Regions from separate parts of the Homo sapiens genome. Here region 2 is linked to region 1. Evidence: promoter capture Hi-C in 16 types of primary human blood cells and fetal thymus (Javierre and others, 2016). All regions are on one chromosome and are shown on one strand. Each heading gives the region's core, a stretch centred on a gene start or on the middle of the fragment in contact. The rest is flanking DNA. Distances are from core to core; before and after follow the strand shown. Region 1 holds the start of LYPLA2 (lysophospholipase 2). Region 2 overlaps SRSF10 (serine and arginine rich splicing factor 10).

Region 1 (4,642 bases), core at 1,461-3,960:
ACGAGGTCAGGAGATCGAGACCACGGTGAAACCGTCTCTACCAAAAATACAAAAAATTAGCCGGGTGCGGTGGCGGGAGCCTGTAGTCCCAGCTACTCAGGAGGCTGAGGCAGGAGAATGGCATGAACCCGGGAAGCGGAGCTTGCAGTGACCTGAGATTGCACCACTGCACTCCAGCCTGGGTGACAGAGTGAGACTCCGTCTCAAAAAAAAAAAAAAAAAAAATCAAGACTGGATCAGTTTCTCCAGGAATGGTCAAGCTTAATTTTGTACAGTAGGCCAAAAACACTCCTACACCCATATATAGTAAAGAAGAAGGTGGGGTTGAAAACCTGTATTTCACAGAAATTAACTGGGCATGGTGGCGTGCACCTGTAGTCCCAGCCACTTGGGAGGCTGAGGTGGGAGGATCACTGGAGCCCAGGAGGTCGAGGCTACAGTAAGCCATGATTGCGCCACTGCACCCCAGCCTGAGGCAACAGAGTGAGACCTTGTCTCAAAACAACAACAACAAAACCCTATATTTCATTTTGCACAAAAGGAAGTGATTTGTAGAATGACATTTACAAAAATAAGGGAGAACAGATTTTGGAGCTCATCAGAAGAAATGAGGGTGAGGAAAGTAATTGAGCAGCTCATGTGGTCTCCAGGTAGACCAAAGACTTTGGACTTAAATTTTGAAAGTCAGTTTAGCAATTGAAGAGAATGTAAGTATCTAAAAAGGGGATTTGATATGGTCAGTATTCTCTCCCTTGCAGAAAACAGGAACAGGTAATAAAGGGAATTAGTGTTGAATCTGATCCTTTTGGGAGAATTCCTCTGAGGCATTGGCCCATGCTGTTGTTTGGAGGATATAGCCACTGTTTCTCCAGCCTGTCCTAGGAAAGGTCTGCTACCACCAAACCTTGTTGGCCCTCAAAATTTCTAAAATGCAGCCTGAAATAAACCAGAATGCAAATGCTGTTCTTGAAAAGCATGAAGGGTCCTATTCACTCAGCCACAGCCTCTTTATTTCAGTTGGATCATTTTTTGGAGTTAAAAGAAGGGCTATGTTTAAATTTGGAGTAGGGGGAAAAATAAAGTTAAAAATCTTAGAGCAGACTAGCCCTTCACTAATTCCACTAATTAAAGCATTAATCACAGCTCCTGGGACTGAGCCTCTGAATTTGAAGCTTCACTCTGAAGAATTTGTTTTAAGTGTCATGGTGTCTCAGGTGATCGAGGTTGCAGGAGGAACTGTTCATTCTTCCATAAGTGGGGACATTACCCTCCATTTTCTTTTGACATTCAGTCCTGGGTCCTTGGCTTGTGGTGGTCCCATAGGCTCAAAGGTTTCCTGCCCCGAATCCTGGTATTGTAGGCTCCCTGACCTGTTGAGTACTTAGGACCAAAGTGCCTCTGGGCCTGGGGGAAAGTGCTTTGTTGAGCTTCCAACTTTGTACTGTTTTCTTTTTCTTTTCTTTCTTTTTTTTTTTTTTTTTTTTTTGAGACAGAGTCTCGCTTTGTTGCCCAGGCTGGAGTGTAGTGGCACTATCTTGGCTCACTGCAAGCTCCGCCTCCCGGGTTCACGCCATTCTCCTGCCTCAGCCTCCCCCCGAGTAGCTAGGACTACAGGCGCCCGCCACAGCGCCAGGCTAATTTTTTGTATTTTTAGTAGAGACAGGGTTTCACCGTGTTAGCCAGGATGGTCTCGATCTCCTGACCTCGTGATCCGCCCGCCTCAGCCTCCCAAAGTGCTGGGATTACAGGAGTGAGCCACCGCGCCTGGCTGTACTGTTTTCTTTCTGTTCAAAGAAAACACTAGTATAGGTTAGGCTGGGAGAGTGAGTCCTAAGCGGCTGAGGGTCAAGTGTGACTCATTTCCTATTTGCAGATCCCCACACATTCTCAGGGACATGCTCCTTCAACTCAGTTTGCCTGCCTTCTGACTTTTCTGTGGTCCCTGATACCTATTTCCACTTCAGCTTGATGGCAGCGTTTTGTGCACTGTCTGCATGACATTGCTTGTGAAGGGCAGCGCTAACACTGCCAGTGCCTGTCCAGCTCTCCTGATACGGCCTTTGTATTTTTCCTAGGTCCTTTTTTGCGTGATTAACACCTCACGCTGTGATTTTACTGTATAAACCATGTTCACACAACCTCATTTAAGCCTACCAACAAAGCTGTGAAGGAGGCAGGGTGGTTATTACCATTTTATATATCAGGAAGCAGATCCAGAGAGGCAGAATTTAAATGGAATCCCGAGGTTGCTGTTTACATGCCTTCCTTGAGCCTCAGTTTCCCCATCTTCAAGGCTGGAGAACTAGATGATCTGTAAGGTCTCTTCGGTTCAGAGTGTGTCATTCCATTCATGATCCTGGAATAGGGCATGAAAGCCAGTGGCAGACACCCGAGGCCTTAAGAGGTGTGTCCCATGAGGATGGGAAGGTGGTAAAGTTTATGCAAACAATAGTGTGAGGGATGCCTCTCCTTCCGGTCGGCCCTCCTCCAGGAGGCGCATGGGTGGTGGTAGCAAGTGGGAGTCTTGGGTGCCCTGTCTCGAATCTACAAGGTGGGAGCGGGTGAGAACCCAGCGACTGCGCGGCTGAATGACAGGGAGTAGCCCCGCCGCCTCCAACATGGCAGCTTCTATCCAGCGAAGCCGGGTCCCCGCTTCCGGGTTCCGTACTGTCGGCCAGGCTACTTCCGGCAGCGCGATGGCTGGGTTCCCGGGACTCGAACGGAAGTTCCGGCGGGGGCGGCCGAGGGGGAAGAGTGTGTCTGCGGGAGAAAGAGGAGAATCGCCCAAGCGGCCTCGGAAGTCCCAGGGAGTGGAGGTACCCAGCCGGCGGCTGCGGAGGATGGGCGTGTAGGGGGAGGTCGGCCTCGGGAGGGTCCCGGAGAGCGGGGAGGGGGAACCGTGATGGGGGGGATGGGGGTGGGGAGTGAGGTGCGAAGGCGCTGTCCAGTCTTGGGGACTTCGGGAGTGGAGCGGGGCTAGGCAAGGGGGTGTCTGAGTATAAAGAGACAGACTTCAGGGTCGGAAATAGAAGAGCCCATTGTGGGGCGGGGGCTTCCCCAGAGTCAAAGGTACAAAGCTTTATTGTGGGCAGGTGGGAGTCCTGGGTCAGGGTAGAAAATTTCACTGGGTAGGGTGACCTTTGGTCAGAACAGAAGTTCCCATTGTGGGGAGCGGGAGATCCTGGGTCAGGGTGGAAGTTCTCAAGGTGTATAGAGAGAGACAGGTCAGGGGGAAGGCACCCCTCCGAGGAGGGAGCCTGGGCGGGAGGTGCAAGTCCCCACGGTGGAGAAGGAAGGGAATCGCAGCTCAGGGCAGGAGGTGCATTCCCCATGGGAAGAGGAACCCCGGGTCACAGGTGAACGATCCCATTGTGGGGAGCTGCCCTCAGGGGTCAGAGATGGAAGGTGAGGCCAGTTGGGAGGGGTGGGCAGGCACTTGAGGCAGGTAGTGGAAGCTTCCGGCGAGTTTGGAGGACGCCGAGGATGGGGAGGGGCCAGCCAGCCTGACATTCTTTTGTGTGTTTGGGAGTCCCAGAGCGTGGTCAAGCCAGGGCTCGTTTGCAGTCAGTGGCAGCAGCAGCAGGTAGCTCCGTTTAGGGGGGGCGTGGAGCACCAGTTTGGGGGTGGGTGGAGTTCTTACGCTTTCTGGGGACATGGGCAGCCCCCTGGGGGTCTGGGAATGGATGGGCCAGAAACTGCTGTGAAGGCTGGATGGGGGCTGGGTGGGGGGAGGTTGAGATGGGGGTTGGAGGCGGCACTGAGTAGGGGATGGAAGCTCCTTTCCCTGGCACTTTTCTCTCCATTTCCCATAGGGCCCGGAGTTGGGGAGGCAGGGACCCAGGGATGATTGGAGAGGAGGGGGAAGGCACTCACCCCTGAGGAGTTAGAGGGGGAATGAAGCAGGCGTGCCGCTGCCTCCCCTCTGCCCCCTGCCCTACAGTCCCTATGCCCTGCCTCTGCCTGTCTCCAGCAAGCTCAGGTCCTGTGGTTGGGCCAGAACCAGAGACACATGTTCTGGGCCACTAGGGAGGCTGTCTCTGCCTTTCAGCCCTGGAACTGAGGCAGACTTCTTCTCCTGTGCCCTGGGACTTCTTGCTTGACTATTCTTTGTGCCCAGGACAGAACCTGGGTGCTGTGTGGGGCTGATGGCCTGGTGGCCTCTTGGGCCAGGAGTGTGTCCTGTGCCTGGTTTTGCTCTTGACCGCCGCCCCGATGTATGCAGGCCCCCGCCGTGGAGCCGTGTGGTGTATGTGTGGTAACACCATGTCTGTGCCCCTGCTCACCGATGCTGCCACCGTGTCTGGAGCTGAGCGGGAAACGGCCGCGGTAAGGGTCCCCTTTCACCCACGGCCAGACACTGTGGGAGCAGCTGGAGGACCGGCTGGAGGGGGTGTGGGAAAATGGAGGTGGCAGTGATGAGCAGGGAGTATCCTGAGGCCAGCAGGCTCGGGGTAGTAACCTGTTTGGCTGCTACCTGGGTTCCCCCAGGTCCTTGGGGGTGGGGGAGGGGTGGGCAGAAGTTGGAGGACCTAGGGGAAGCCTTCCTGTCTCCCCATTTCCCATCCTTTTCCAGGTTATTTTTTTACATGGACTTGGAGACACAGGGTAAGTGACTGAGGAGGGGTGCTCCTTAAGGAGGGGT
Region 2 (4,642 bases), core at 969-3,468, 170 kb after region 1:
GTATGTGGGTCAGCTTAAAAATTTTGATTGTTAATGCCCTATTTTCTAATTTGGCACCTCTTGATGCCTAAGCAGGTAAGCAGATGCCTAAGCTGTATTTCTCCAAATAAATCAAGATGAAGTACTGCCCAAGTTAAATATTGATAGCCTAAAGACAAGTTTATGTAGTACTTAATGTACATGATATGAATGTGAAGCATAAAATTAAATAAAATTTTTCCCCATTGGCTTGGTTTTATTTTAAAAATGGTTTTGATTGCTTAATATTCTTTTTAAAAATGTGTTTTACTTGTCACTGACTTGAAGCTCATAATACACTCACAATATTCCAAACTCTTGGATTTCTCAGACTCCAGAACTATGAACCACTACATTTCTGATCATATATATATACGTATATATAAAAAAGGTCACAACTAAAATGTGATAGGACTGTTGGCTTGAAAAGGGGCAACTAGTTTGCTGACTGATACAGAAGATACTAGGATTTGACAGCTATGCAGTTAAGCAACTACTTAGGATTTCTCTCTCCCAGTAGTGTTAATTAAAAAGCAAAAAAAAGGCCACACATGGAAAACATCGCAAAGCTTTTGAAAGTTAATTCCATGATCTAGGTTCATAGAAAAAAAATTATAAGCAAATTTATCAAGTTGACAAGAACCCTTGTGTTTTAAGTATGTTGACAAATGAAAAGTATATAAGGGGACCCCTCAGAAGAAAAGCATCACAACCACACCTTTCTGATACAGATTCCAAATGATAGGGCATCTTAAAACTAGTTTGAGTAATCCTTAAAATGCTACAACTAGTCCCATGGCAAAGCTGTATTATTTTCATGCAAACTAGTTAACAATTTGGAGTTAAGGCAGAACCAGCATTTGGGTGTTCATTTTGTTTCCAGGGTAATTTCTGTGAACAATGCCAAGGATTGCAGAATTGAACTTCATGTATTGGACAAATCTCAGCCTAGGTGTCTGTTAGTTTTTAAGCTATATATTGAATCTAGTGTATATATTGAATACACTAGATTTTTAGTGACTAATCTAGTAATACACTAGATTTTTGGTTTGACTCAAGCAAAATGAGTAAATGGAAGTGGGAGTGGAAGATTACCTAACTTCATACTTTAGGAAAGGTACTGATAAAAGTTTTGGTTAGCCTATATAGAGAATGGTGATAGGAATTTCCCAAGTCGATGCAATTGCGAGAACCAAAAATAGCTGGTACAGAGAACTTACCATGTAAGGCTGCTGAAGTCAGCCATACTGTGAACCTTAGGTAAATGCTGTAATTTCAATTTGTCTTCTTTTCGATGGCAGTTATACTATGATGGAATCCAGGTCCAAAACCTATCCTTAAGCTTAAAATAAATACTAATAAACTATCCTCTTCCCTAGAACTACAACACAGGAAAAAACCTGAAAGGTTTTGTGTAAGTTTCAGTTTCTAGTATTTTGGTTGCATTCTTGTAGGCAATTTGTAAAGCAAGAGGGACAGAGTGCATCTCTAAAACCTCTTACACAAATTAGGAAAAAGTTGTACCCAGGTGGTTACAAATCTAAGAGCAAAATCTTAAAAAAACCCAAGATTTATTTTTGGCTCCTAGACCAGTTTATTTCACTTTCCAGCATTCAAAGAAATGTGATCTGCAAAAAACTAGATACAAAGGCCTTTTACTTCTTTACAAACTACGGTTAGTTCTCAATGAATTTACATGCCTCACTTTTTATTCCAAGAAAAATCCCCATTATGCAATACAAGGGTGAAACAGCTGTTACAAATACACAGAAACATAATAAAGATAACCAACACTGTTAAGAGGAAGGGGAAGAGGAAAAAACCCAAGAGAAGGAAACTTTTCCACAGTGACTAGCAGAATGTCTTGTAGATAGCAATAACCGAAGACAAACAGGTTGCTCACTTCATCCTATTTATCAAGTCATCCTATCTAAAATGAGAATAGTTCATGCCTAGGATAGGCTAACTATAGGCTTTGCTAGTCCTCCTTCCTAATAGAATGCCCTCAGATTATTCCTGAGCTATCACTCAAGTCACAGATACTTCAGAATATAATCTTAGGTTTTGTAAACAGGAACATGGTCAAAATGCAATACAATGGAAAATCTCTACAAGAGAATGAGATTTGGAAAGCCATGCTTAGAGTCTCTGAGCCACACAACCATAAGATCTTCGAGTACGTTTAATCTCTCATCCAGGAACATTATCCATTTACCTTGTAAGGTTGTGAGAAATGAATAGCATAATATGCAAGAAGCTATCACATGATGGGTATTCTACAAAGGACAATTTTCTCATCTGTAAAATGGGAATAATACCCATTTCCCAGGAGTGTTTTTAGGATTAAATAGAAATATTTGAAAAGCACATGGTTCGGCACAGTAAGTGCTCAATAATATTGACAGCATTCAGTATAGAGAGAAACAACCACAGAAGAGATCCTAAAGCAATTCATTCAACAGATGCAAAAATTAAAGGGCCTTTTCTGATTTACCATAATTAAATATTTTAGAGAACTACCAACTGTTGTTATTGTAGTTATATATGTATTTACCTAATTTTTTTTAAACAAAACCCCAACTCAATATGCACCTTAATTCTCCCCCTTAAATGTCTTAACTTCAAAAGGAAATGGAGAAGGGAGGTAGAGGGCAAAAAAGTCTATAGCCTCTACATATTCTTTTAAAAATACATAGAACCTCTGTCCATAAGAACCCCTATGTTAATGAGTGTATAACGGTATACAACAAAATACTTTTTGTAATTAAATCTAGTCACTTTGACTCTAAGTAAATTCTAGATCCCATTATATCAATGTTACTATCTCCATGAAAATAAAGCTATAAAAACACTTCCCCATTGGATTAAACAACAAACATGGTAACAAAAGATGAAACAAGTGAAAAATTATGGGCTGTAACCTAGGATCTGACACTTGCTGTGTGATCTTGGGCAAGTTCAAACAAAATTTCTAAAATAAAATACAAACAATAATACCTCCATTTCACACCTCCCTTGAAAATATACCTCTGCTATATTTTCAAAATTGCTACAAATTAAAAGCTTAAATTCCACTTCCAGATTTTTAGTTAATTTTATATGGAAAATTTTAAGTATGTGGCAAAAAAGATGACAAAAATCAAATGTGATGAAATCAATGTATAGGTAAAGAAACATCATATCCTAATAAGAAACTAAGGAATCCAAAACATTTTGTGATACTATAAAAGTTATTTATTCGCTATACACAGAACATGTCCCCTATAAAATGTACATGTAAATCACTAAAAAGTATAATTTGGTGAACATTTTCTCAATTACAGAACATACTAAATCAGTTAGGATAACAGCTCTCTGTCTGCCTCAAAATAATCTAATTATAGCACCCAGTCTCCTTTATACCTAATGCAAAGTTAAATACTTATTTTGGGGGTTATATCCTAGCATGTGTTTGGTGAGGCAGAGTAAACAATTTATTATAACTCTAGTATATTACAGTCACTGCACAATAAACCAGTTTATTACAGATTAAATCATTTTTTCATTATTTATAATAATGTGATCAAATACTGGATACTTTTAAATGGCAGATAACCACACAATTACTTATCCTTGATCGTATATTGTGTTCTATAATTACATTGATACGAATGGTGTAAAATATTGTTATGAATAACACACCTCAAACAAAACAATGAGGCCATACTGTAATGATTCACTAGATTGTGCTCAGTAGACATTTACTGAATAAGGGAATTATCTATTTTTCTCAATTATCCAGTACAATGATTTGCCCACAGTAAGGGCTCAATAAATATTTGCTGAATATACTGACTAGGAAAGAGGTGAGAAGAGATGGGCCCTCTTAGCTGGATGTCAAATATAATTGGAATTTACCTGGGAAGGAGTAGTTAAGACAGATGTAAACTGCATGTGGTGTACAAGTAAATAAACACAGATGCCAACAAAGCAAATGATTAAGCAGAAAACACTGGCACCAAAATAAACAAAGGCAAGATTTGCCAATAATGGCAAAAATGGAACTTTTATATTGGACCATACCTTTTCCCACCCAATTCAGTTTGAGACAGACCAACAGAGGCACTGTAAGAGACTATGGCTGTCTTCCTTGATATTCAGACATCCTAGTTTCCAATAATTTATTATGGACCTGTTACCCATGAATCAATATAAACCTATTCATATTTAGGGATTAGTTTCCACAAGTACAAAGTTGAATTTCCTTTTATTTGTCCTAAAATGCTTACTTTCAAACTTGAAGGGACTTCAATTATTCCATGTAGTTTTCGATAACATTCTTTTATCTTTTCAGACCAGAGTCAAAATATTCGTACAGTATTCATACTGCAGCACCTTCCACCCACCCTTTGGTCGCTTGAACTGCCCTTCTTTGGTTCTTTTTCCGCTTTCAGATCTTTCTTGAAGTGTAGTAAGCAGAACTGTACTGGGTATTCCAGCTGCAGTTTGGTCTTAAATAAAAGAAGGATGTTTGTCAGTTTGGTTTCCTTTATTCTTCTCTGTGGTATACAGGATTTTGTTAGTTGAACTGGATGTAGCAGCTTACTGGGCCAAATTTTCAAGAGAATAATACAATAGTTCCCAG

Evidence for each region. Contacts are between HindIII fragments. The CHiCAGO score rates a contact against its expected background, and 5 or more counts as called.
Region 2: a contact is called between a fragment that was not itself captured here and the fragment with the promoter of LYPLA2 in region 1, in 5 of 17 cell types (fetal thymus, neutrophils, monocytes and 2 more). The highest score is 6.4, in fetal thymus.

What each region holds. Positions count from the first base shown.
Region 1 is chr1:23,788,435-23,793,076 of GRCh38, forward strand. LYPLA2 (lysophospholipase 2) reads left to right here and starts at 2,711. Exons shown (of 10, transcript NM_007260.3): 1 at 2,711-2,816; 2 at 4,223-4,326; 3 at 4,574-4,605. The coding sequence starts at 4,249. It overlaps LOC105376860 (a long non-coding RNA gene), which reads right to left. Exons shown (of 2, transcript XR_947067.3): 2 at 2,180-2,356. RefSeq lists a silencer at 2,889-2,948. The HindIII fragment of the contact is 1,905 bases long and covers 1,171-3,075 here.
Region 2 is chr1:23,963,216-23,967,857 of GRCh38, forward strand. It overlaps SRSF10 (serine and arginine rich splicing factor 10), which reads right to left. Exons shown (of 6, transcript NM_054016.4): 6 at 1,132-4,642. PNRC2 (proline rich nuclear receptor coactivator 2) reads left to right here. Exons shown (of 3, transcript NM_017761.4): 3 at 1-247. Among named protein-coding and RNA genes, the nearest start is that of PNRC2, 5.7 kb to the left of the region's middle. The HindIII fragment of the contact is 1,721 bases long and covers 1,359-3,079 here.